Linked DNA regions of Homo sapiens: regions 1, 2, 3, 4 and 6 are each linked to region 5. The links are contacts of gene promoters, found by promoter capture Hi-C in blood cells and fetal thymus (Javierre and others, 2016). All regions are on one chromosome and are shown on one strand. Each heading gives the region's core, a stretch centred on a gene start or on the middle of the fragment in contact. The rest is flanking DNA. Distances are from core to core; before and after follow the strand shown. Region 1 overlaps RPTOR (regulatory associated protein of MTOR complex 1). Region 2 holds the start of LOC124904075. Region 3 overlaps RPTOR (regulatory associated protein of MTOR complex 1). Region 4 overlaps RPTOR (regulatory associated protein of MTOR complex 1). Region 5 holds the start of NPTX1 (neuronal pentraxin 1). Region 6 overlaps RPTOR (regulatory associated protein of MTOR complex 1).

The links. The method cuts DNA at HindIII sites, captures the fragments that hold promoters and counts their contacts. A CHiCAGO score of 5 or more calls a contact.
Region 1: a contact is called between a fragment that was not itself captured here and the fragment with the promoter of NPTX1 in region 5, in 12 of 17 cell types (activated CD4 T cells, naive CD4 T cells, total CD4 T cells and 9 more). The highest score is 17.9, in activated CD4 T cells.
Region 2: a contact is called between a fragment that was not itself captured here and the fragment with the promoter of NPTX1 in region 5, in 8 of 17 cell types (naive CD8 T cells, endothelial precursors, non-activated CD4 T cells and 5 more). The highest score is 9.5, in naive CD8 T cells.
Region 3: a contact is called between a fragment that was not itself captured here and the fragment with the promoter of NPTX1 in region 5, in 10 of 17 cell types (endothelial precursors, activated CD4 T cells, naive CD4 T cells and 7 more). The highest score is 11.6, in endothelial precursors.
Region 4: a fragment that was not itself captured here is called in contact with the fragment with the promoter of NPTX1 in region 5 in 1 of 17 cell types (endothelial precursors); the score reaches 6.9 in endothelial precursors.
Region 6: a fragment that was not itself captured here is called in contact with the fragment with the promoter of NPTX1 in region 5 in 12 of 17 cell types (endothelial precursors, activated CD4 T cells, naive CD8 T cells and 9 more); the score reaches 12.9 in endothelial precursors.

The regions. Positions count from the first base shown.
Region 1 is chr17:80,908,464-80,912,687 of GRCh38, reverse strand. RPTOR (regulatory associated protein of MTOR complex 1) reads right to left here. Exons shown (of 34, transcript NM_020761.3): 21 at 3,759-3,877. Among named protein-coding and RNA genes, the nearest start is that of CHMP6, 81 kb to the left of the region's middle. RefSeq lists enhancers at 939-988, 1,757-1,946, 2,067-2,296. The HindIII fragment of the contact is 255 bases long and covers 2,585-2,839 here.
Region 2 is chr17:80,889,105-80,893,164 of GRCh38, reverse strand. RPTOR (regulatory associated protein of MTOR complex 1) reads right to left here. Exons shown (of 34, transcript NM_020761.3): 18 at 1,328-1,445; 19 at 296-436. It overlaps LOC124904075, which reads left to right and starts at 994. Exons shown (of 2, transcript XM_047437253.1): 1 at 994-2,905. The coding sequence starts at 2,421. The HindIII fragment of the contact is 9,458 bases long and covers 1-4,060 here.
Region 3 is chr17:80,924,745-80,928,753 of GRCh38, reverse strand. RPTOR (regulatory associated protein of MTOR complex 1) reads right to left here. Exons shown (of 34, transcript NM_020761.3): 24 at 3,274-3,384. Among named protein-coding and RNA genes, the nearest start is that of CHMP6, 65 kb to the left of the region's middle. The HindIII fragment of the contact is 946 bases long and covers 1,503-2,448 here.
Region 4 is chr17:80,860,076-80,864,020 of GRCh38, reverse strand. The region is part of intron 13 of RPTOR (regulatory associated protein of MTOR complex 1); the gene reads right to left. Among named protein-coding and RNA genes, the nearest start is that of CHMP6, 130 kb to the left of the region's middle. The HindIII fragment of the contact is 2,745 bases long and covers 1-2,622 here.
Region 5 is chr17:80,473,806-80,478,049 of GRCh38, reverse strand. It overlaps NPTX1 (neuronal pentraxin 1), which reads left to right and starts at 1,443. Exons shown (of 5, transcript NM_002522.4): 1 at 1,443-2,047; 2 at 2,332-2,539. The coding sequence starts at 1,604. RefSeq lists an enhancer at 2,456-2,989. The HindIII fragment of the contact is 19,396 bases long and covers 1-4,244 here.
Region 6 is chr17:80,956,124-80,959,814 of GRCh38, reverse strand. It overlaps RPTOR (regulatory associated protein of MTOR complex 1), which reads right to left. Exons shown (of 34, transcript NM_020761.3): 29 at 2,085-2,191. Among named protein-coding and RNA genes, the nearest start is that of CHMP6, 34 kb to the left of the region's middle. RefSeq lists an enhancer at 1-428. The HindIII fragment of the contact is 3,760 bases long and covers 1-3,260 here.

The DNA.
Region 1 (4,224 bases), core at 1,463-3,962, 430 kb before region 5:
TACACTACATGTCACACACAATCCAAAAGGGCGCTGGGCTGTGGAGGCTGTGCTGGGACGTTTGCTGAAGAGCAGAGAGCAGTGGCTTCTGTGCTACACAGGCTCGAGAGCTTCCCAAGAGGAGCTATTTAACAACTGGAGGCCAGGTCCACAGGAACGCACTTAATAGTCCTTATATTTCAAGATTAGGCACTCGGATTACAGTTTAAAATAATTCAGGCTAATTTTTCAGTAAGGTTAAATACACAAAAGCCACTGAAAAATAAACTTAAATAGGCTGAATACTGATTTCATCATGATCAAAATACCCAAGAAGCTAAATTAATTGGGGGAAAACGATCAAACCTCCTAAATAGCGCTGGCCTCCAACTGTGCAGTCAGGACAGAGCAAGGGTGGTCCATGGCCACAGCCATCCTGTGCCTCCAAGAGAAAAGAAGAGGCCACCAGACACTCCTGTGTGTCAGAGAACTGCCAGCAGAGACGCGAACTGGCCATCAATTCTAAAAACTTAAACCATTTATTAATGTTCGTAAAAAGCTTTTACAACTATTTTAGTGAAAACGGCTATTTAAAACCCAACCTTGAAATCTTAAACTAAAAGTGGTAGAGGCTATTTAGAGTCTAAAAGGGCAGTGGTAAGTGGTAAGAACTGATTTTCCCTAATCCGTAGCAGGCAGATGTGACGGTTTCAGTCCCAATCCTCCAGAGCGTCAGCTCATCTGAGAGGCCTCGGGACCGGTTGCTCTGGTCTGGGGCCTCCGTGGGTGGTTTCCTCAGGGGTGTTTGTGCAGTCTTATGACTTTCTTTTCTTCCTTATTTCCTTCCTGTCTGCTTTACTGCCTCCCCTTCTTGGTCTCAGACCATAATGTGTAACAAACATATATTTTTAAACATTATTTTAAAAGACACGGTCTCACTCTGCCGCCCAGGATGAAGTGCAGTGGCACAATCATAGCTCACTGCAGCCTTGAGCTCCTGGGCTCAAGGGATCTTCCAGCCTCATCCTCCTGGGTAGCTGCGACCACAAGTGCTTGCCACCGTGCCCGGCTAACTTGCTACTATTTTGTAGAGACGGGGTTTCACTATGTTTCCCAGGCTGGTCTCAAAACACCTGGGCTCAAGTGATCGTCTCTCGCCTTGGCCTCCCAAAGTGCTGGGATTACAGGTGTGAGCCACCACACCCAGCCTGAGGTTTATTTTTGTATTTATCTTATTCCTAGTTTAAAAGCAAATAATTATATTATTTCTTAGTTTTCTTACCGCATAATGAAAACATTAACTTAATTGACTGGCTATTTTCAACAGGCCAGTAGCACATAAAAGAAACCTGAGGAGATGGCCTGCTGCCTGGGGATGAACGTCTCCAGGTGCCCGTGCAGCTGGCCACACCACACGGTGACGAAGGAGGTGGCAGAATCCGCTGCAGGGATGCGGTGACGAAGGAAGTGGCAGAGTCCGCTGCAGGAGGGGAGGCCGGTGCAGAATTAAACAATCTGGACCTTTCCAAGTTGGCCAATAGGCTACTTGTGACTATACCGGTGATACCATAAAGAACAGGCCAGGCGCAGTGGCTCACGCCTGTAATCCCAGCACTTTGGGAGGCCGAGGCAGGCGGATCACGAGGTCAAGAGACCGAGACCATCCTGGCCAACACGGTGAAACCCCTCGTCTCTCCTAAAAATACAAAAATTAGCCGGGTGTGGTGGCTCACGCCTGTAGTCCCAGCTACTTGGGAGGCTGAGGCAGCAGAACTGCTTGAACCTGGGAGGCGGAGGCTGCAGTGAGCTGAGATTGTGCCACTGCACTCCAGCCTGGCAACAGAGCAAGAGAAAAAAAAAAAAAAAGAACTGAAGAAGAACCAACTGCAGACGGTAAGGTGATTTCCATCTAAGATATAACTAGACCAACAGAAAATAACTTAGTTGAAGGAACCGAAAGCCACAGAAGTATAATATCAGCAAAAGGAGCTGAGGAGCTGCAGGAACCCTGGCTCGATGGCCGGCCAGGACCCAGAAGGCCACAGCAAATGAGAGGGGGAGACTCGATAGCTCATTTGGAAAAAGCGATGGACTAGGATGGGAAGCCGTGGCTCCTCGACCCTGCAGACCCTGGCACTGAGTGATACCCGAGGCAACGCCATAGCCGTGACGAGGTCAGATGAAGACGTAGAACACCACAGAGGCTGCAAGAGTGTGGCCTTTCCCTGCATTCTTCCTGCAACATTTCTGTAAGCTTTTGAAGTTTTATCAAAAAGTTACCAAAAAATTTTTAAGTGCTATAATGAGTGACTTCTAATTCCACATAAATCATCCAACTTCCATAAGCAACTAGAAAACCAGGACAAATACCGTAAACAATTGTTTTTGGACACTGGGTGCTGGGTGTCACGGGCTTGTGATCCCTGAGAGAACGGAAATAAACAGCTGCCCTGTGTCCGGCTTGCAGGTAGTTTCAGGCAGTCCCAGGCCACAGTGCAGAGACGGGGAGCCCAGCACTTTCAGGGAACAGGAGACAGAGACTGGGGCTCCAGGGAGGCTGAGGTGGTGACAATTTGCAGGACAGAGCACTGGAGAGGGGAAAGCTTCCAAGGTCTGCAGGAGAGGCCCCTGGGGTCTTTGACTAAGTATTCATCTGCTCAAGGGTAGAGTGACAACCCATGAGGCAGAGAAAAAACAGCGGGAAGGCGGTAGGCCAAATGCCCAGAGCTCACAAAAGGGACTGAGAAGAGTTTACAGTCCCCAAAGAGAAAGGACTAAAATCAATGACCTCTGCTTCTACCTTAAGAAACTAGGATGAGAAGAGCAAATTAAACTCAAAGTAAGCAGAAGAAAGCAAGCTTTATTGATGAAAGCTCAATCAATCAAATGGAAAATGGACAAACAACAGAGAAAAACCAATGAAACCAAAAACTGATTCTTTGAAAAGTTCCCTTGAGCTAGAATGGCCATGAATAAGAAACCATTAACTAGAAGGGTTTTGAATGAGTCAAAAATTACTGCTATCAGAAAGGGAAGAAAAGTCTGGGTGTGGTGGCTCATGCCTGTAATCCCAGCACTTCAGGAGGCCAAGGCAGGAGGATCACTTGAACTGAGGAGTTAGAGACCAGCTTGGGCGACACACTGAGACTCTGTCTCTACAAAAAATTTAAAAATTAGCCGGGTGTGGTGGTGTGCACCTGTAGTCCCAGCTACTTCCAAGGCTGAGGTGGGAGGATTGCTTGAGCCCAGGAGTTGGAGGCTACAGTGAGCCGTGATCAGGTCACTGCATTCTAGTCTGGACAGAGTGAGACTGTCTTACAAAAACAAAAAACAGGTGCAGTGGCTCACGCTTGTAATCCCAGCACTTTGGGAGGCTGAGGCAGGAGGATCCCTTGAGCCCAGGAGTTCAAGACCAGCCTGGGCAACACAGGGAGACCCCATCTCTTATAAATAATTAAGTAAAGAAAGAAAAAAAAAATGGAAGAAGGGCCAGCACTGTAGCTCACCCAGACACCAGAGGATCCTGAAAGATAATGTCAGTCCTCCCCTAATTGCCTTGACAGGCATCAGTAAATCCAGCACCCTCTGCCCACGTGGGAGCTGCACAGACACAGTTTGGGGTGTACTGTGTACATCTCCAGATTTAAGATATTTGCTGAAGCTCGTTTTGTTACTTTCTAAACTGTGGTGTGGACCCGGGCACACCTGGAGTTCCTGGCATGCATACTCGTAACCGAGAACCAGCAGCTGGAGCGCGGTGGGGAGCGCCCGGCACGTACCTTGTAGGCGATGCTGTTGAGTACTTTCATGGCCACGTCCGAGACCTCTGGATAGGGGTCAGCAGCCAGGTGCAGCAGGACTCTCCAAATCTGAGTGTAAACACTGTTAAAGGAAACTCCTGAGAGAGAGAAATGGAAGATGTTTTAGTGGAAAGTAGCTGCCAATGAGGCTCCTAAGGCGGCTGCATTTTCTGAAACCCTAACCCTGGTATCAGAAGTGTTGCTTTAAAGAGCCGAGGTTACAGGAAGCCCCCATTTTGTTATTCTGGCAACGGGTCCCGAGATTCAAGAATCCTAGCTGATCACTAGGCTTGATCACATGGATTCATCTACTGAGGCCAAATCTTTCTAAAAGGAAAACTGCGTTGGAAAGGGTGTAACTTTCCTTGAAATGCCTCAGCGGATCGGAGGGCATGACCACACTCCCGGAGGAGCGTCTGATGTCACATCCTAGATTTCTAGGAGC
Region 2 (4,060 bases), core at 633-3,132, 410 kb before region 5:
CTGGGAGACGGGGGCAGGGCACAGCCCTCCAAGGAGCCACCGCCTCAACTGCGGCTGCGCTTGAGCTCCCTGCCGCATTGGTAACGGGCCCGCTGGCTATTCTGGGGGCTGGCCTACGCCTCCTTGCCATGCTCACGTCTGGAAGGGTGACTCATCACCATGTTGGCAGATGGGACTTCAGGGCACGCACTTAGACGAAGGGGCAGGGGCAGAGTGGTGCTTACTCAGATACAGTGTTTCAGAAAAAACAACCCCAATCTCTCCCAATCCAATAACCCGATTTCCAGGATCTTACATTCCTCTGTCAAACTCAGGTTCTGCAAAGATTTGTTGAGGCTCCTGGCTGTGGCGACAGCACGGATGTTTCCATAGGAGCTCACAGAACGAAGTCTGGGGGTGCACGGGCTGTCTCGCACTGGGGTCAAACTCCCTCCCTCTGGGAAAGAAGGAGAAAGACAAATTACAATGGGCTTCCAGGTGGAGGCCAGCGTGTCTTCTGACACTCAGCAGCTGGGACACTCGGTGACGGCAGCTGCTACCTGTGCTGCAACAAATGTCAGAGCAGGGGCTGCACAGCTCAGGGAGACTCAGACGTGAGCGGAGGCTCTGCGGGATAGCACTGGACAAACAACAACCGCTTGTGGCTCTGTGCATATTAAATTACAAAAGACAACAGGGGAGAGGCTGGTGGCTGCGGCCTGTCCGAGTGCACACGAGGTGCATGGTGACGTGGGCCGTGAGCCGTGCTCCCCGGGAAGCCGCAGCAGAGCAATGACCGTCCACACTCAGTCTGGCTCACCCTTCTCCCCTCCTGGGCTTCCTAGAAGCAGTGAGGCCTCACTGCTGATGACAAGCCCCTGCACGGCAGAGACGGCTGTGTGGAAGCGGGAGGGGCTGCCGGCAGCGATGAGATAGGAACTGTACTCTCCAGTCAAAACGACACGTGTGAGAAAGCACGCCTGACATGACTCACCGAGCCACGGAGCCAAGAGCAGTGTGATGAAATTACTCATCGCAGGAAGACGGCCCCTGCGCTTTTCCGCAAGCTCCTACTGCAGAAGTTTTGTCATACTTCAAGGTCTCTGTGAGTTTAATTTCCAAAAAGGGTAAAAAGAAAGGAAAAATGTAAGAGGGTCAGTGTGGCCCTCTTTCCTGCCCTTTTAAATCTGGCAGGTGCCTAAAAAGATGAGAAAAACAGGGACCCCTTGCGGCAGGTATCTGAGAAACCTGCGCTTAGACTCTGCGAGGGTGAGCAAGACTGGGCCGCGGCCTGCACTAGAACCGCCAGGCGAGGTGCTCTGCGGGTTCACAGGAGAAGACGCCATACCTGTGGTTGCTGGAGAAGGCAAGGCGTAGTTCTTTTCCTCTTCTATGAACTGCAGGGCCACGGTGCAGAAATTGCTTTCATACTGAACCACAAGATGACTCAGAGCCACCACCAGCTCCTGCCGAGAGGGAGAAGGGACAATAACAGTCACTGGGGCTGGAAAATGATTGTGGAGCAGCAGTGAGACTTGAGTCACCAACAGAAAAAAGAAAGGTTAAGACAAAACCGTGCAATTGGCATCAGAAACAGGGACCATCCCTTTTCGAACCGTCAGAGCAGAGGCCTTGGAATAGCAGAGTGCTGGGAGACGGCAGGCCACTGGCTCACGGGGGAAGCCCAGAATGCCTGCCAGAATCCTCCCCACTGCTAGAGGCGCACGACGCATCGGGGGTCTCGTAAGGACACGGTGAGTCACAGGACTCCAGAGAGGGAAAGGTAGGAGGCCTCACAGCCTCTCGCTTACGGTGACCACTGGGACCCTGGCTGAAAACGCCGCTCTAGATCACACCCGATGGCTGGCGGCCTTTCTGAATCTGAGCGCCCCAGGGCCGAGTGCAGCGGACAAGCCGAAGCCTGCTCTTTTCAACACATGTGAAACTTTCATTGGTAGATGTTTCTAGTCCCTAAGAGGGAACGGGAAAAGTTGTAGAACTAAAACATCATCTTTAGGACCAAATGCCTTGGTCCAAGGGAACAGACACAATTTGCCTCTCTTTTAGGACAGTTCAGTGCTGTGACAGGAACAGCTGGAGATCCTAGAAGTCACTGGGGAACAGAAGGGGGATGTAGGTTTAAAAAGCGGAAAGAACGTTTTTTTCCCTACGACAACTTTTTCTGCCTTTTTTTTTTCTGAAAAGAAAAAATACGGATTCTTAGCAGAAAGCCAAGCGCTGTGAGAGGACCCCTTGCTAGTCGCGTGACGCCCCTGTCTCCACAGCGGCTGGATGAGCAGGCTCTGGATGGGCGCCCACCAGGGACCAGGGTCTTCTCGTGGCCACCCCACTCTCCGTCTACGCACTCTCTGTACACGCACTTTCCCACCCCAGCCTTACATGCCCCGGGCTTCCTCCTATCATGCTTTGTGGTTTCCCTGATGCCGGCCCCTCACTCTCCTAGGTCCAGGCTGGCTGTCCAGCTGCCGGCTCTTCACCTGCACCCCAAACTCTCCCTGCCCTATGAACTGCGGGCACCGTCTACTTTCCCTTCAGCCTGCAGCGCCCTCTTGATTTGCGCCGATGGAACTGCAAGTCTCTCACTGCTCAGAATGGAGCCCTGGCATCACCCTCCACCCGCCCCTCCCACCCTGCTGGGCACCAAGGGCCATGGCCCAGTGTGCGTCTTCACGGCCATGGCCCACGCCCCGGTTCTGGCGCTCGTCTCCAACTGCCTAAGTCACTGTCCCAGGCTCCCCTGGCAAACCACAGAACCCCCGCTGCCTTCCCTGTGCAAGAGGAGTGAGGCACTGCCGAGACGGGGCCTCCGACAAAGCGAACACCCACTGGGCCCCTTCCAGGGAAGATCAAGGCTGCACCTGTCTTCAGAAAGCACCGATTTTTTTCCCTTTCCTTCTGACATCAGGTGAGAAAAGCCAGAGCTGGGAGCTGGCATGGATTAACGTGCACCGAGGTGGTGGGCCCTTCGATTCAGGGGAGGCCAACAGGGGCCACGTCTGTTATTCAAGGGGAATGTCCAGAGAGCACTCACTCCCGAACACACATCCTGCTGCGCACGGGGCCTCCCTCGGGGGCCGCACATCCCTCACTCCTGAACACACATCCTGCTGCATACAGGGGCCTCCCTCACTCCCGAACACACATCCTGCTGCGTACGGGGGCCTCCCTCGGAGGCCGCACATCCTGCTGTGTACGGGGGCCTCCCTCGGAGGCCGCACATCCTGCTGCGTACGGGGGCCTCCCTCGGAGGCCGCACATCCTGCTGCGTACGGGGGCCTCCCTCGGAGGCCGCACATCCTGCTGCATACGGGGGCCTCCCTCGGAGGCCGCACATCCTGCTGCGTACGGGGGCCTCCCTTGGAGGCCGCACATCCTGCTGGAGATGGCGGGCCTCGCTCTGGAGGCTGCTGCCTGGCACACAGCAAAGAGCTCTCCTTTGCGTTGGACCCTTCCTGCCCTTCCTGAATGGAGCTGGGCTCTGACAGCAACACACACACGCACTGGCCTTCTTTAGGATATTCATGCAGAACCCATCAGAGGGTCTGGCAGAGGTGCTCAGCCAGGGGTGTGGGAGCTCCCCTCTCTCTCAGCTTTTGCAAGATGAGCTTGGCTGGTGTTGTCATGTGACCCCTTCCCCCTGAGGGCTCCCCAGCAGCACACAGACGGGGAGGCCACATTAGTGGCCACGGGCTCCACACTGGCCAGGCTTCCCAGGTCCTCTGACCGGTCGCTTGTCAAAGCCATTGTCTGTCCTCCTGCTCCCTGGCTGGGGCTGAGCAGCCTTCCTCGAAAGGGAGGCAGCTTTGCCTGGACTCATACTTTCACCTGTCAGCTCAGCCCTTCCTGTCGGCTCCCCACCTTCAGAGTCCATGCGTGATCCTGGAACCTGCTCCTTCATGGCTGGCCCCTTCAACGAGGGGCAACTCTGCTCTTCTGTTGCTCAGACCCAAACCCCCAGGATTCCCTGTCCTCTTCTTTTCTCGTACCCTCTCCACCTGTGAGCAAGTGCTGTGAGCTCCGCATTCAAAGTGCTGGTGCCTCTTCCCTCCTGCGCCGTCCC
Region 3 (4,009 bases), core at 726-3,225, 450 kb before region 5:
CACGGCAGACCATTTTTAATATTCTTTTGTGGTTTCTAATGTAGACACGAGCTCCGTAAACCAACATGGGAAGAAAGGAGGTTGCTTCACCAATCAAAGGTGAGCCGCAGACAGAACACGGCTCTTTCTAGTCATACGGACCTGTACGAAATCTGACGGTGAACTAATAAAAACGTTAGCAGACGCTGTCCTTACCACGGTGTCCTTGGATGCTCATCCTGCTAATCGCTAGTTGCATGTCAGTGTAAACTGGTCATTATTTTGTGACCTGGTAACTGTTTTAGTTTCTTATATACCTTGAAGCAGTTTCGGGTTTGCAGTTCTTCTGTTCTTTTTTAGGTTCAATCCTAGCCTTAGAGCTATTTTTAGTTTACATGTGAAGCAGGCTAATAACAAGAAGTTCCTAATGCAGCTCGTTACACAAATGTCATTAGATGATGAATTAAATCAGTAAAAGAATACCTTTATGAATACCACCTAGAAAAAGTAGGAAAACAATTTTTTTTTTAAACAAGAGAAAACACGTCCTGCTTCCTCTTCTGAAGTTTGGAAAAGGTCTCTAATGTTAAAGACACTCCTAAGACTGCAGTTGCTATCAGGAGTTACAGACGACGCCGACCACAACACGGCGCTCTTTTCCATCATGACACCCAGAGCCTGTTGTTTCAACGACAACCAAGTGAGCATTTGTTTTCAAATACTTGGCAGGGGCAGAGGAAGACAATCATTTACTCATTCAGCAACCGTTTCCTGATCAACCTCCTGTGTGATGGCAGCTCCTACATGGATCCCCTTGGACTAATCTCCTCTGCAGTGTCCACACAGCAGGACCTGCTGGCAGGGCCAGACCACAAGGCTGACACCCTCCAGCTCCTCCGTGCGGGCGGGAATTCTCAGATGTGCAAATGGAGGAGATGAGGGCAGGCGGAGGAGGGGCTGCTAATCTGAAGAAAGGGAGAGGAGACGCTGGCTTGGGGCTTGCACACACCGGAACAAATAGACACACACACACAGACACACAGAAACACACAGACACACACACGAGATACACATACACACATACAGAGATACACACACACATCACACAGACAGACACAGGGATACACACACACACATAGAGACAGACAGACAGACAGACAGACAGACACACACACGGCCTTCCACATGCCTCTGGGGAACTTCCTCCTGCAATCAGCTGCTGTGTACTTAAAAATGCTTAGGAAAGGAAAGCAAATCCTTTGGGGAAAAGTCAAATTCATTTTTAAGTTTAAGAGCAATGAGTTTTGGATTATCTATGCCATTCCTCTTTCATCATAGGATAGATGACTGAGAATAGGCATTTTTCAAGGACTTCAAGAAAAGCCTCTCGTTATCACACCAAGAAATTACCAACATGTACAGCCACTGCCATCCCAGCAAGAGCGAAGACCAGACCATGTGGGTTTCTTAGTCGCCTGACCTTGTCTGCCTTAAGCACGAGACCGCATCAAGGACACCAAGCTTGTTAACATTAGACTAAATTCCATTGACTTTTCAACAGACTGGGCCGCAGTTCTAGAGGACGGCCTGGCACCCCTGGCACAGTGTCCAGCCACCTCCCAGCTCTGGCTCACTCAGAGTTTGGGTGGCTCCTGCTTCCTGCATCCAATTCCAGGATTTGTGTATGCTTTCCTTTCCTAACCAGAAGCCTCCTAGTGATGGGAAGGGGCACTTCCCTCTGTCTGCAGGGGCCGCCACCCTCATGCCACCCGCAGGTAAGCAGCGGTGAGCCCAGCAGGTGGGCCTGGTGAGGGGCTTCTGACTAGGACTGAATCCACCAGCCTCAATGATCTCCTGGGGTTTGTTTCTTTGATTCTTTTCCCCCGACTCTAAAGGTGCTTCGTGCTTAGTGTAGAAACTGCAGAAGAGGCACAAAAGAAGCCCAATTCAGTGCAGTCGTGGGTGGCGCCATTTGCGAATCTCTAGTTAGGAGCGGGCTCTGCTGGTCTCCGTCGTATGCACATCTGTGTCTGTATGAGAAGCACGGCTGTGATTGTTCTGTAAATCTGGCTTCTTGGTCTGCATTTTGCATTTTTTCTTTTTAAGGAATGTTGTCATGAGCGCTTCCTTAGGACACTATTTTTAATGTTTAACTTTTCAGTAGCTCCAATAATATCTCATCAAATATTTCATAACTTTTTAACTATTCACCCTCTGTGGACATTTAAGTGAATCTCAATTTTCGTTCTTAGAAACAACACGGAAGTCATCTACATCTCTGATTATTTTCTCAAGACAGTATTTTAGCAGATTCATGACTGGGTCAAAGGGAACGGCTATTTAAGGCGTTTGATGCTTCCCGGCAAGACGCTTTCTAGAACAGCCAGGCCACTGTCCACCCAGGTTCATGTGAGAAGAGGGAGGCGAACTCCTCTCTCTTTGCAGTAAAGGGGCTCCGTAGTTCAAGCTTCATGGCTTGCCTGCCTCAGGGGCTGCCTGATGGTTCTGTTTTTATGAACAGAAATCAGCATTCACTATGAAGACAGGACCACAGGGACTGAGCTGTCATGGGGTCCAAATACCATTCACAGAGATGACTAAGACGCAAGCTTGATATACAATCGAGAATAAGCTGAGAGTTTCAGCTTTCAATTATATATGAGGGAAGAGGCAGGTTTGCTCAGAATGCACTTTAGATTTATAGAAAATCTCCACGAGTCCCTGCTGGGCCCTGGCAGAGAGATGAGCACTGGGACTGTGCTGACAAAGCAGCTCCCGCCCCATTCCTCGAAGAGGCCGAGAGCCGCCGCCCTGCCCCAGCCTGCAGGAACACAGCCACTGCGTCCACAGCACACGGCGCTTGTTAGGGCTGTGTCAGGGTTGAGCCTCAGAGATGGTCTTGTGGTGTAACCCCAAATGCGCTAGGATTGGCTGCAGCAGGCTGCGTCTAACAGTCCCCAGACCTCGGAGCCACGCAAGCGTGGCCTTGGGATGGGCCTCGAGTGATCCTCACCATTAGGGAGTGGGAAGGCCTGTGGTGACCCTGTCAGTTAAGGCAAAGTGACACCTGTCACACTGGGAAGCTCCAGCGAGGCAGGTTTTCTCTTTTCGTTTGGCGACAGGAAGGTAAGTGAAGTTTGTTTCTTCTGCGGTTCTACCTCAACCGTGACCATCACTACCACGACCACAATGGGACGCTCCCACAGCCACAAGCCTTGAGCGTTTATGCTCAAAGAAGTGGGACAGACACATGTTCGCTAGGACTCTACTCTGAACCCCACACCCCGGGCGCACCTTCATGACGGGCTGGGCAAAATAGCGGGCGCTCCAGTCGCAGAACCCCGTCTGCACCGTGGCGGAGATGAAACTTTTGTGTCCAGCAGCATCGTCCGCGTCGTCCGCAGTCTTCAGGGTTTAAGCAGGAGGGTTGGAAGGAAAAAGAAACACCAGTCAGTCATGCCACTCCTGAGCTCAAAAGAGCTGCAGCTGGGGACAAAGGCGCTGCCGGGAGCACCGGGCTGCCCCTAAGGACGGCACTTCTGTGCTCTGCTCACTTCCGTATCCTGGTGACCAAGAACCCCTGAACGTCTGGCCAGGGATTGAGGGGCCCGGGCTGTGAAGTGTGAGCCACGTCGGTCCCACCATCCCCAGGGCCGACCCAGCACAGCTCCCAAGTCAATTCTAACTGACTGTTCAGACAATGCCACGTGCGTCCATGTGTGCTGGTTTATCAACCCCCAAAAAGCCTCTGCCGCTTGGTTCCAGGACAGCTCCTGTGATGGCCCCGTGACACCAGACTGAGAGCGGGGACTCCCATGTGAAGTGGCCTGGACGGAGCGCACAGCTTTGCAGGCCGGCTGGAGCTCCCAGCTACTGGAGAAAGAGGATGTGGAGCTGAGGAGGACTGAGCTTTGGGTGTTTCCTGTTGTGGAACCTGTGGCGGCCAGGGCTGTCAGAGTCTGTGTGTGCTTGTGGAGTGAGGCTGGGCACCAGGGGTCTCCTGTGCCACGCCATGTGGCCTGCTGGCGTC
Region 4 (3,945 bases), core at 1-2,500, 390 kb before region 5:
TTGTCCCGCAATGGAATAATATTCTTTTAATTAAATTTTTTTTTCTTTTCTTACCATGCTTCATTTTTGTTAGTTTCTATTGCTATTTTCTTTCTTTCTTTGAGGCAGGGCCTCACTCTGTTCCCTAGGCTGGAGTGCCATGGCACAATCACGGCTCTTTGCAGCCTCGACCTCCCGGGCTCAAGCGATTCTCCCGCCTCAGCCTTCTGAATGGCTGGGACTACAGGCACGCGCCAACATGCATGGCTGAGTTTTGTATTTTTTCATGTGGAGTCGAGGTTTCACCATGTTGCTCAGGCTGGTATTGAAATCCTGGTTACTCAAGTGATCTGTCTGCCTCAGCCTCCAAAAGTGCTGAGATTACAGACGTGAGCCCCGTGCCTAACCGTGTACTGTTTTCTCCTGCAATGCTTAACTGGTTGTTAATCCCATCAAGTATATTTCTTCCCATCACATATTGCAGTTTTCATCTCTAGAAATTCAAGTTGGGTTCTTTTTATATTCTCCGTGTCTCAATTTAACTTTTTGAATATGTAGAGTAGACTTCTAACTTTTTAATGTCCTGGCCTGCTAATGATAACACCTGCAGCAGTTCTGAGCAGGTTTTAATGGGTTGATTTCCTTTTCTTCATTACGGGTCATATTTTCCTGATTCTATCTGCCTGGTAATTTCTGGCTGGTAGTGTGAAGTGGAGTGTAACCTGGCATGGGGAGTGATGCTGGGGGAGGCCCTCTGGGATCAGAGTCCTGGGAGAATCCTGGACAGACGGCTTTCTTCATGTGCCCCCCTTGGTGCTCCTTGTCCTGTGCGGTACCATCTGTGTCAGATCAGTGTCACCACTGTGCCCTGCTCTGTCTCATGTAAACGGCACACACTTCTCCCCGGTGGCACATGGTGTTCTTCCGTCTTTTCTTCCGCCCGAGCCCACCTTCTTTAAGGCCTCCCCATGAATCCCTCAGAGCTTCTGGCACAATGGGACACACGGTGTGCCCCAAAGGTGCTTGGGAAATGAGGGGAGGTCCCAGGCTCGCCCTTCCGCTGGGCCCAGCCTGAGTGGGCTCCGATCCTTCTCAAACTCTTAAGTGTGTCCTGAGGGCCGGCTGGCGGCAGCAGGGGGATGCTGAGAACACTGGGGGAGTGGCTGGCTTCTGTCTGCACCTCTGAACCTCTGAGCAGGCTCTGCGATCTTCACAGGTGGACCCGTCTGTACACCATGTGCACCCCGATCTGCACAATGGCAAGCCCCAGGAGTCACAGGGACGGCTGAGGGCTGCAGGAGGCACTCATCATGTGGGGGCGGAGCCCCGGAGGACCACCAGCAACACGAGGAGGGGGCGGAGCAGACATCATGGTGGGCGGAGCCCCGGAGGACCACCAGCAACACGAGGAGGGGGCGGAGCAGACATCATGGTGGGCGGAGCTCCAGAGGACCACCAGCAACACGAGGGGGCGGAGCAGACATCATGGTGGGCGGAGCTTCGGAGGACCATCACCAACACAGAGGGGCATGCACACATTGTAGGGGGTGCACACATCATGGGGGGGTAGGGGTGGAGATCCGGAGGACCGCCAGCAACATCCATGGCCAGACGTGGGGAGGGGAAGGGAGTAGAGGAATGACCCCTCAAAAACACAGGGAACTTTCATCTCTGGGAAGTTATCGCCAGGGTAACGATGGAAGGAAGGGCGAGGCAGGTGAGGTAGACGAGGCTCAGTTTCTACCGGAAACACTTCAAAATGCCCCTCAGTGGAATGATTGCTTTTAAACATGCAGGTGCAACAAGCTGGTTAAGAAATTAATTCACAGGAAGGCCTGTGATGCCTGCAGGCAGTTACAAGAACACTGCAGGCAAGGGCATGCCCAGCTGGCTGTGGGAACAGCTCCCCAAGCAGTACTGAGCAGATGACCCCTTCAGCAGCATGAATAATAAACCCGAGGCCCTGGTATCTGCCTGGAGCAGGGTGTAAAACGAAGGCACGCTGCAGCCTCCGTGCTCATGGCCACGTTCTGCCATTTGGGGCACTCGAGAGCAACAGGCCCTGGGAGATCCACGGGACCAAGAGCCAGTTTTAAACAAGACGCCCTGCACTGCAATACCATGATGGGCTGTGGATGCAGTGAGAATGTCACGAGGAAGGTACGAGGAAGGCTGTCCCCTTTCACCAAGAGCCACCCCTGAGACTAAAAATAAAGACATCATCAATTTCCAGGTCCTAAAAGGTACTAAAAACACGAAGTCTGAGAATCAAAGTTGGCTTAGACACGTTCCTGCAGCACTGGCGGTGCTGGGGAGCAGGCTCAGGCGGCCGTAATCCCAGACCTCTGCATGCAGATGGCATCTCTTCCTCCCTTCACCCTGGGCTTTGTGTCATGTGAGGGTCACCGTTTTGTGCATCCCAGAGCCCCTACACATGGTCCTTCATCCGTGGCCAGGTGCCAAGATATTTCTAAGTGTGTCCATGTAGATGACGAAGATATGGGTGTAGGACAGAAACCACGTTTCAAAATGACTTCCTGCCAAACACCCTTTGTTTACATAATGTGGCTCTTCAGTGAATTTGAAGAAGAGTAAAATAGAAATGACCCACACCTCTCGCGTCCTGATCCACAAAGCCAAGCTTTCTGTTTAGCAAGAAAAGGTTTTAGTGTAACAGGGACAGGCAGGAGAGATGTGAGATTTACGTGGTGCCCCTTCCTGGTCCTGTTCCTGTTCCTCTATAATTTACACAGCAGTTTTCCACGTCCTGGTTCTGAGCTCTGGAACTGTGGCTGAAGGCAGACGGCCGAAGGCTCATGATTTTACAGAGGCAAATCATGGCCAAGGGAAGTGAAAATGACTTGTAAGAGCAAATGCGGTGATGGGATCAAACTCAGGGTTTTAACCTTAAATCCAGTGCTTTAGCCAATCTTTCAAAGCAGTCATTCTTTATCTGTAGTTTAATGGGTAGCAGGGAAAATATTTTGCTGAAATATATGGTATTCAGGTCACCATTATGGAGCGTTCTCTGGTCACAGCCAGGTGCAGAGCACTGGGCCCAGGAGGGTTCAAGGTTGAACTGAGGTCAAGGTCAACCTCAGCTGTGCTGAGAGGAAGAGCAGCAGCTCCCCGCATCCAGCTCAGGAAATCAGGAGCAGCTGGGAGAGATGGCAAGCACGGTAGCCGACCCGTGCCAGCAGAGCCATGGTCAGTGCCCCAGGCCCAGAAAAAGAGTGAGAGATCCCAGAACCGGAAGAGGGGCTGGAAGCTGCTTCTGCTTGGAGAGAGCATATACATAAAATCCTAGGGAATCTACAAGAACCAGTGAACTAGCAGAAAATCCCAGGGAATCTACAAGAATCAGCGGAACCAGCGAGAGGTCAACTGGTGCTGGGTACGACTGACGCCTGCCTCCAAGGTGGAAGCCCTCACCGTCCGCTTCGGCAGCAGCCTCCCCACTGCCCCCTGACTTCAGCTGTGACACCAAAGTAGTACGTGAGGACTTGGGGTGTGGGGAGGCTATGGTCAGGGCTGGGTGCAGGGAGCAGAAGGGCTGAGCAGGGGCCCAGGGGTCCGTGGGCAGCACAGTTGGGGACCTGATGGCCTGGGCTGGACTTGAATCAGCAGCGGCTGTGGGTGGGAGACACAGCAGTGGCTTTGTGTGGGGTGTGCAGGGCTGACGGGTGAGAGCGCACAGTGCGGGGTACGAGCCTGTGGCTCGGGGTGCCTGCCAGTGCCTGGACAACAGGGTCAGTGAATTTGGCTGAACAAAGCCCAACAGGGCAGCTTCAGCGAGCACAGCAGGTCCTGGTGGCCAGTGCGACATGGCTGACAGGGCTAAGGATGAGGCTGGGTCTCAGTGCCAGTGACTGGACGGAGGAGCTGACAGAATGTGGCCTGGGGAGCGCCGGGCAGCAGGCAGGAGCCCCGGGGGCTTAAGCTCCGTCCACTCTCCCCTCACCTGCC
Region 5 (4,244 bases), core at 194-2,693:
ATCGAGCCGGCCTCTGCTCCCGCCCGAGGGGCGGACGCCCGATCCCGGCACCCGGGACTGCCCGTGGGTCCCTGCTGGCTGGGGACCCCCAGCCCCCGGCTGCGCGCAGGGAAAGGCTGCAGAACGCAGAGACCAGAGAAGCCGGGGGCGGCGGGGAGGGGTCGGGGGGCCACGGCTGTAGCCCGGCCCCGCAGTCTCGGAGCCTCAGTTTCCTTCTCTGTACCACGGGAGCGTGGACGGAGGGATTTCCGAGGCTTTGACCGCTCTGATAGCCCCGGGGCGGGGCGGGGCGGGGCGGCTGCGCCAGCCCTGGTCCTGAGCCCCCAGCCCGGCGCCGGAACCCGGACCGCGATCTCGGGAGCCGAGCCCCGCGGTCCAGATGAAGGCGCGAGTGCGCGGGTGCCGGGTGGGGTGTCTGAGCGAGAGCGGAGCTTCTCAGGTGGACGCCCCCAGCCACCTCCGGGACCCTTCCTGCTGGCCTTTGGGCCTGAGAAGTGGGCGCGGCTGGACAGACGGGAAACAGCCCCCCACGCACAGGTGGACACCCGGGGATACCGGGCGCGCGCGGCGCCTGGCAAGGGGAAGCTGCTGGAGACGCGGGCGGCTGCTCCCGCGGGGCCCCCTTCCGAAGCGCCGCTGCGAACGTCCAGCCCCGGCGACGCCGCCTGCCCGCGATCGGGCCGGCGCCGCGGACAGGAAAGGCTCGATCAGCTAGGTCTGCCTCCGAGAAGTCCCCAGCGCCCCGCCCGCACGGGGTGGGGACTGACAGTCCCCCGGGGACGGGGCCGGGTCCACAGAGCCCGGGAGCTGGGGGAGGGGAGGCGCCGGGGGCCCCGACCCGTGGGAAGTCCCTGTACCCAGGCTGCCCGGCGGCTTCTCAATAGCACACGGACATCTAAGAAACGCGGGGCGGCCCGGTGACCCCCGCTCTGGACTTAGTGGCGCCGCGAGGCCCCACTCCGAGCCGTTGACCACCGGGCACTCGGGTGTTGACGACCTGGGTCCTTGGGCACCCAGCCCGGCTCCAAACGACCCCGGCCCAAGGGTGTTCAGTGCAGCCAGGAGGGCCGAACCGAATTCTATCTCCCGGACGCGGTGGTTTCCCGCCCGCCTGGAGCCCCGTCGGAGGTTCGGGGACACCACGCAGGTGGTCCATCCTCGAGTCCGGGGCCGGAGCCCGACTTCCTTCCCCCTGAGCTCTCGGAGCCTTCGGGGCAGCAGCGCCGGCCCAGGCGGGGGCGGGGGAGGAGGGGGCCGCGGCAGCTCCCAGAAGGGCGGGGGGGACGCGAGCGGAGGCAGCCCCGGTGGCGCGCTCGTGAGACCCCCGCCGCGCCGCGGGCCCGGGCCGCGGACAATTAAAGCGGGATTCCTCCCCCGCTGACGTCGGCGGCTCGAGGCCCCTCCCGCGGCGGCATAAAAGGCGCGGGCTCCGCAGCGCAGGCGGCAGTGGGGGCCTGATAGCGCGGCGGTGTGGACCGCGCGGCCGAAGAGCGCGGCGCCCAGAGCGCGGGCCGCTCGCGGAGCCACAGCCCGAGCCGGGTCCCAGCCGGAGCCGAGCCCCAGCCGAGCCGAGCCGGGCCCGGAGCGCCCGGTGCCCGCAGCCATGCCGGCCGGCCGCGCCGCGCGCACCTGTGCGCTGCTCGCCCTCTGCCTCCTGGGCGCCGGGGCCCAGGATTTCGGGCCGACGCGCTTCATCTGCACCTCGGTGCCCGTGGACGCCGACATGTGCGCCGCGTCCGTGGCCGCCGGCGGCGCCGAGGAGCTCCGGAGCAGCGTGCTGCAGCTCCGCGAGACGGTGCTGCAGCAGAAGGAGACCATCCTGAGCCAGAAGGAGACCATCCGCGAGCTGACCGCCAAGCTGGGCCGCTGCGAGAGCCAGAGCACGCTGGACCCCGGAGCCGGCGAGGCCCGGGCGGGCGGCGGCCGCAAGCAGCCCGGCTCGGGCAAGAACACCATGGGCGACCTGTCCCGGACACCGGCCGCCGAGACGCTCAGCCAACTCGGGCAAACTTTGCAATCGCTCAAAACCCGCCTGGAGAACCTCGAGGTCCGCGCGCGCCCTCGGCTCCGGTTCCCCCTCCGGCTCGCTCGCCCCTCTGCCCTCCCCCACCCCGTTCCCTACCCGGCCAGGCATCCCCCGCCCTCGCCTCAGCCGCGCGGGTGCCCGGCCGGTGCCTCCCCGCGCCTGCGAGGCCCCGCGGCGGCCACTCGCCCCAGCTCCCTGCCAGGCCGCCCCCGCAGTCGCCCAGAGGGGACCGCGCCGCGGGCCTTCCAGCACGGTCCCCGCGCCTCGCCTAACGGTGTGGTTTCCCCCGCCCTTGCACCCCGCAGCAGTACAGCCGCCTCAATTCCTCCAGCCAGACCAACAGCCTCAAGGATCTGCTGCAGAGCAAGATCGATGAGCTGGAGAGGCAGGTGCTGTCCCGGGTGAACACCCTGGAGGAGGGCAAGGGGGGCCCCAGGAACGACACCGAGGAGAGGGTCAAGATCGAGACCGCCCTGACCTCCCTGCACCAGCGGATCAGCGAGCTCGAGAAAGGTACTGGGGCCAGGGGGAGCCGTGCTGCCTGCCTGCACCTGCTTGCCCGACCCTGCCTCGGTCCCGATCCCTAACAGCCCAGCTCTGCACTGTGCAAGCCTCAAGCCGCTCCGCTACCCCCAACCCCTGCACCGCTTTCTCATTCCCCGCACCCCTTCCCAGGTTCTGGGCTTCTAGTCGGTGTTTCTATCAGGGCTGGGTGCCTTGGGCTGGGGCTGTCTCTGGGAAAGGGGATTGCATAGTGCCCCCTCCCCCATCCAGACACACTCACACACTCGCTGGATTTTTCAAGTCTGATTTGTTTAATCCTCAGTAACTTTGCACAGTGGCTGTCGCTGGCTCAAACCCTCCCTGCTTAAGAAAGCCTGTCTCTCCCTGGTCCCCAGCCTCAGCGTACAGCTGGGTGCAGGCTGGGGCTGGGCGCTCTCGTTCCCCGGGCCGCTGAGGCTGTTAAGCAGGTTTCTTCCCGGCTGCCATGCCCCCGGTGTCCTCTCAGGATCTCCAGCTCCTCCCCACTTCTGTCCTGAACCCCTACCCTGAGGTTTTCTTTTCTGAGTGACCCAAGTCCTGGCATCTTTCAAATCCCTGAGGTTTCTCAGTCACCAACTCAGGCCAGCCAGTCTATCACCCAGGGCGCCTGGATGAGCGCTGGAGGCTCTGTCTTGAAGTCGCAGAAATCAAACAAGGTTGTAAAAGGGGAGGGGGGGGGGTGCCCGGTGCGGAGCAAGGCCACGTGACCCTGCTCAGACCGCAAAATGTGCCGGACAGATTTAAACAGTGCCATCTTAAGGCTTGTTATGTAACTGAAAAACAGATCAGAAGGAAGGACCTCAGGAGGGAGGGAGAGGGAAGGAGCGGAGATTGGGGAATGAAAAACACCCGGAGAAAGGCCAGGGGCTGGGCCCCTCCCTATCCCCCACTGCAGGCCTCAATGGGTTGGGGTAGCCGCTGGGGTGCTGCACTGAGGGGGCCTGCCCTGCTCTGCTCCCTGCCAGTTGGTTTAGAGGAGGGGGTGGTTGCTGACCGGGCAGGATGTCTTCTAGAAATAATTTTTGGCCTGGGGAACTGGTTTCTTTCTGGGCTTCCTGGCAGGACCACGGCTGCTCACCCAGGGATTGACCAAGGGGTGTGTGTTCCTGGGCTCTGGGCCTGCTACTGTGCCCATTGCTGGCCAGGAATGTTTTGCCTGGAGTCAGTCACACCATACCCAGGGTGCCACAGTATATAGATGGGCTATGGGGGTTGGCGCTTACGGGAGAAGTGGCCGGTGGGGAGGGAGAAGGTGGGCCTTGTGGAAAGGGAGGCCACCAGGCCTGGAACCTGAGCTGTGAGGACACTTACTCACCTGAGAGTGTGGCGGCATCCTAGAGCAGTCACCTTGGGGAGCCCTGGCGCCCAGAGTACTCCCAGCTCCTTGCTGCCCTGCCCTCTCAGCAGAGCTCCAGGCAGAGTCCCTGCTCCAAGGAAGGGCCTTGGAGGTGGGGAGCTGCCCAGCCTCACACCCAAGAGGCATTGGTGGGTCAGAGGCACATCTGGCCTGGAGGGAAGTGTGTGGGCACCAGGGCCTGGCTGTCGGGTGGGGAGAGGCAGGAGCAGAGCCTGGGATTGAGCGAGGAGAGGCTCTGAGCCCCGCCCCATCCTGGAATCAGGTCGGTTACTCTCAGGGTAGCTAGCCTCGTTCCTCCTCTGCAGCCACCCCTGCTCC
Region 6 (3,691 bases), core at 131-2,630, 480 kb before region 5:
TGGGACCCAGCCAGTGAGGCAGAGGCCAGCCCCACCCCGAGCGGAGGCCTGCAAACGCCTCTGGGAAGGACTGGCTGTCAGTGCCAATTAAACTTCCAACCTCTCTCTGTTTCCTAAAAAGGAAAGCAAAGCACATTTTGGCAAGGACTCCTCACTGGCTGCGTCTCAGAACTTCTAATGAGCTATGGGACGAGTCCAGGAGGGGTCATCTGGCTCCCTCGGGGGCTCTAAGTGCTGGAGAAGCGGGGGCGGGGGCGATGGCACCTGCCAGGGACGCAGGAGGAAAAGGGCCACGAGAGGGAGAGCGCTTTCCACGCACGATGGGCGGTGCTGGGTTGTGCACTCCAGGAGGAAACACAGGCGTGGGGATGATGGGGCCAGACCCCTGCGAGGGGCAGAGCCGGCTCTGGGAGCACCTGCTGCGCTCTGTGCCTCCACCCACCTCTGCAGGAACAGCACCTGCCCCGCAGGCCACCTGGGCCTCTAAGCCCCCACTGGTGACCAGACCCTGAGGATCAGGGTGTCCACGCTGTGCCCTGAGGGCTACGTCTCGTGTGGAGCCACAGCTCCAGACAGGTGCAAGACCCCCCCACCCCAAAGAAGGTGCCATGAAAGCTGCTGGTGCCTCGAGGGATCCACGGTCACGTCAGAGGGGAGGCTGCCCACACGGGAAGGCCTGGGCCAGGTTCTCGGGCTGCTGCTGCCCAGAGCAACCACAGCAGCTTCGAGCAGCTGAGGGTGCCCAGGCCTCCCCTCTGCTGGGCCTGCTCCACACCGCCCTCTACGGCAGCAGGGCTGAGCCATCCCTCCTGACACCAGATGGCCTGCCCGGGAGAGAGGCTGGGTATGGCCTCTGTGCCACACCTCTCCCTGGGGACCCAGAGGAAGGGAATACTGGCTCTAAAGCCACCTCAGGCGCTGCCCCTCACAGTATCTGTGGTCTCGCCTCTGCTCCAAATGAAGTCAATGCAGTTAGATTTCTGCTGAGCGCGGCCTGCTTAGGTCTCTACCACTTTTCCAGGCTGTCTTGGGCAAAACCAATGTACTCCGCTTTTTGTCAAAACTGAAAATAGCAGATGCTTTAAGAAGCAAAGAGGCTTCTGGCCGGGCGCAGTGGCTCACGCCTGTAATCCCAGCACTTTGGGAGGCTGAGGTGGGCGGATCACGAGGTCAGGAGATAGAGACCATTCTGGCTAACACGTGAAACGCCGTCTCCACTAAAAATACAAAAAAAAAATTAGCTGGGCGTGGTGGTGGGCGCTTGTAGTCCCAGCTACTCGGGAGGCTGAGGCAGAAGAATGGCATGAACCCAGGAGGCGGAGCTTGCAGTGAGCCGAGATCGCGCCACTGCACTCCAGCCTGGGCGACAAGGCAAGACTCTGTCTCAAAAAAAAAAAAAAAAAAAAAAAGAAACAAAAATCTTCTGTCTTCTGTAGCGGCTCACACCTATAATCCCAGTGCTTTGGGAGGCCAAGGCAGGAAGATTGCCGGAGCCAGGAATTCGAGACCAGCTTGGGCAAATACTGAGACCCCTGTTTCTACAAAAAGTTAAAAAAATTAGCCAGGCGTGTGGGTGCATGCCTGTAGTCCCAGCTACTTGGTGGTGGGGGGGGGGGGTGAGGTGGGAGGATCACTTGGACCAGGAGGTTGAGGCTGCAGTGAGCTGTGATTGCACGACTGCACTCCAGCCTGGGTGACGCAGGGTGACAGAGTGAGACCCCATCTCAAAAGAAAAAAAAAAACGCCTCCAAATAATTAATCATTCTAATTTACAATTGGTCACCCTACTGATTTCTGACATTCCTTAATTTGCAGAGAGAAGACACTACTTGCAAACACTCAGAGCTGGCGCAGCCTGAGCCATACTGCAGCGCAGGGCTGGGTGTTGCAGTTCACCTTCATCCAGAGGCCTCAGGGAGCCCACGTCTCCTCCCAGCATTGTCCCGGCACTGTCCTCCCAGGCCCTGACTCCACCCCTGGGATGGCCAGGCCTCACCGCACACTTTGCTGGGTTCTGTGACGAGGACCAGCCCTGCACACACTGCCCCACAGGCCCAGGGCTTGGGGGACACCTGCATGGTTACCTGCACCTTCATCTCACGGTCTGTGTCCCAGATCCGGACGATCCGCACGTCTCCTGAGCTCATGAGGAGGCCGGTCTCCTGCTCCCAGTCCACCACCATCCCAGCTCCTGGAGAGATACAGTGGGACATGGCATCACCCCATGGGCCCTTGCCTTGGGCAGGCTTTGGGGCCTGCTCTGGGCAGCAATTTGGCCAGCAGCTACAAGGTACCCCTGCCACCATCGAGCCCATCTGGTGGGTCCATATGCCTCATATGAGCTCCCGCTAGGGACCCTGGTGTGCCCCACGTCCAGGCTGGGGTGACAATTCTGAGCTGGAACTCCCAAGTCCGGGCCGGGATGACAATTCTGAGCTGGAACTCCCAAGTCCAGGCTGGGGTGACAGTTCTAAGCTGGAACTCCCAAGTCCAGGCCGGGGTGACAATTCTAAGCTGGAACTCCCAAGTCCAGGCCGGGGTGACAGTTCTAAGCTGGAACTCCCAAGTCCAGGCCGGGGTGACAATTCTAAGCTGGAACTCCCAAGTCCAGGCCGGGGTGACAGTTCTAAGCTGGAACTCCCAAGTCCAGGCCGGGGTGACAATTCTAAGCTGGAACTCCCAAGTCCAGGCCGGGGTGACAGTTCTAAGCTGGAACTCCCAAGTCCAGGCCGGGGTGACAATTCTGAGCTGGAACTCCCAAGTCCAGGCTGGGGCGACAATTCTGAGCTGGAACTCTGAGTCTTCCCCTGACTCGACTATGCCCCAGGCATCGCTAGAGGGAGCAGAGCCTTCCAGGAACATCTGTCTAAGGTGTCCACTGTTCGGAGCAGAGCCTTCCAGGAACGTCTGTCTAAGGTGCCCACTGTTCGGAGCAGAGCCTTCCAGGAACATCGGAGCAGAGCCTTCCAGGAACATCTGTCTAAGGTGTCCACTGTCCAGAGCAGTGCCTTCCAGGAACATCTAAGATGCCCAACATCCGGAGCAGTGCCTTCCCGGAACGTCTGTTAGGTGCCCACCGTTCAGAGCAGTGCCTTCCAGCAACGTCTGTCTAAGGTGCTCACCATCTGGAGCAGACCCTTGCAGCGACGTCTAAGATGCCTGCCGTCTGGACGCCTGGGCAGAACTGGCAGGTCTGGGTGACTTTAGGAAGGCTGTTAAGGCTTGAAGATGAGGGTCCTCCTTTTGGCCCTATCAAAGCTTGAGGAAGCCGGTTCTTCTGAGACAAACAGGAGCTCGGCATGGGCCACGGGCCGGCAGCCTTCAGACAGCAAGGGGCTGACTCCCGACGGCTGGCGTCAGCAAGGGATGGACGGAGAGAATGGGGCAAGGGCTGCCCTTTGTGTGGGGATTAGACAGAGCAGAGCAACCCCCACCTCACGTGACGGCCTGTATTTAAAACCAGATTCAGTTCTAAAACTGTAATGATAACCATTTTAAGATACAGAAAGGAACACCATAGTAATCCTTGTACCCACCACTCAGCTCTAACTTTGCTAACATTTTACCATTGTTTGCTCTTTTTTTTTTTTTTCATAGAGAAGCATAATTTTAGACACAGTAAAAGCATCGTCTGCCCCTGCGCCTGCCTGGGAGGGCTGTCCCTTGGGCTGAGGGCGCCTCCCAGGGGCTG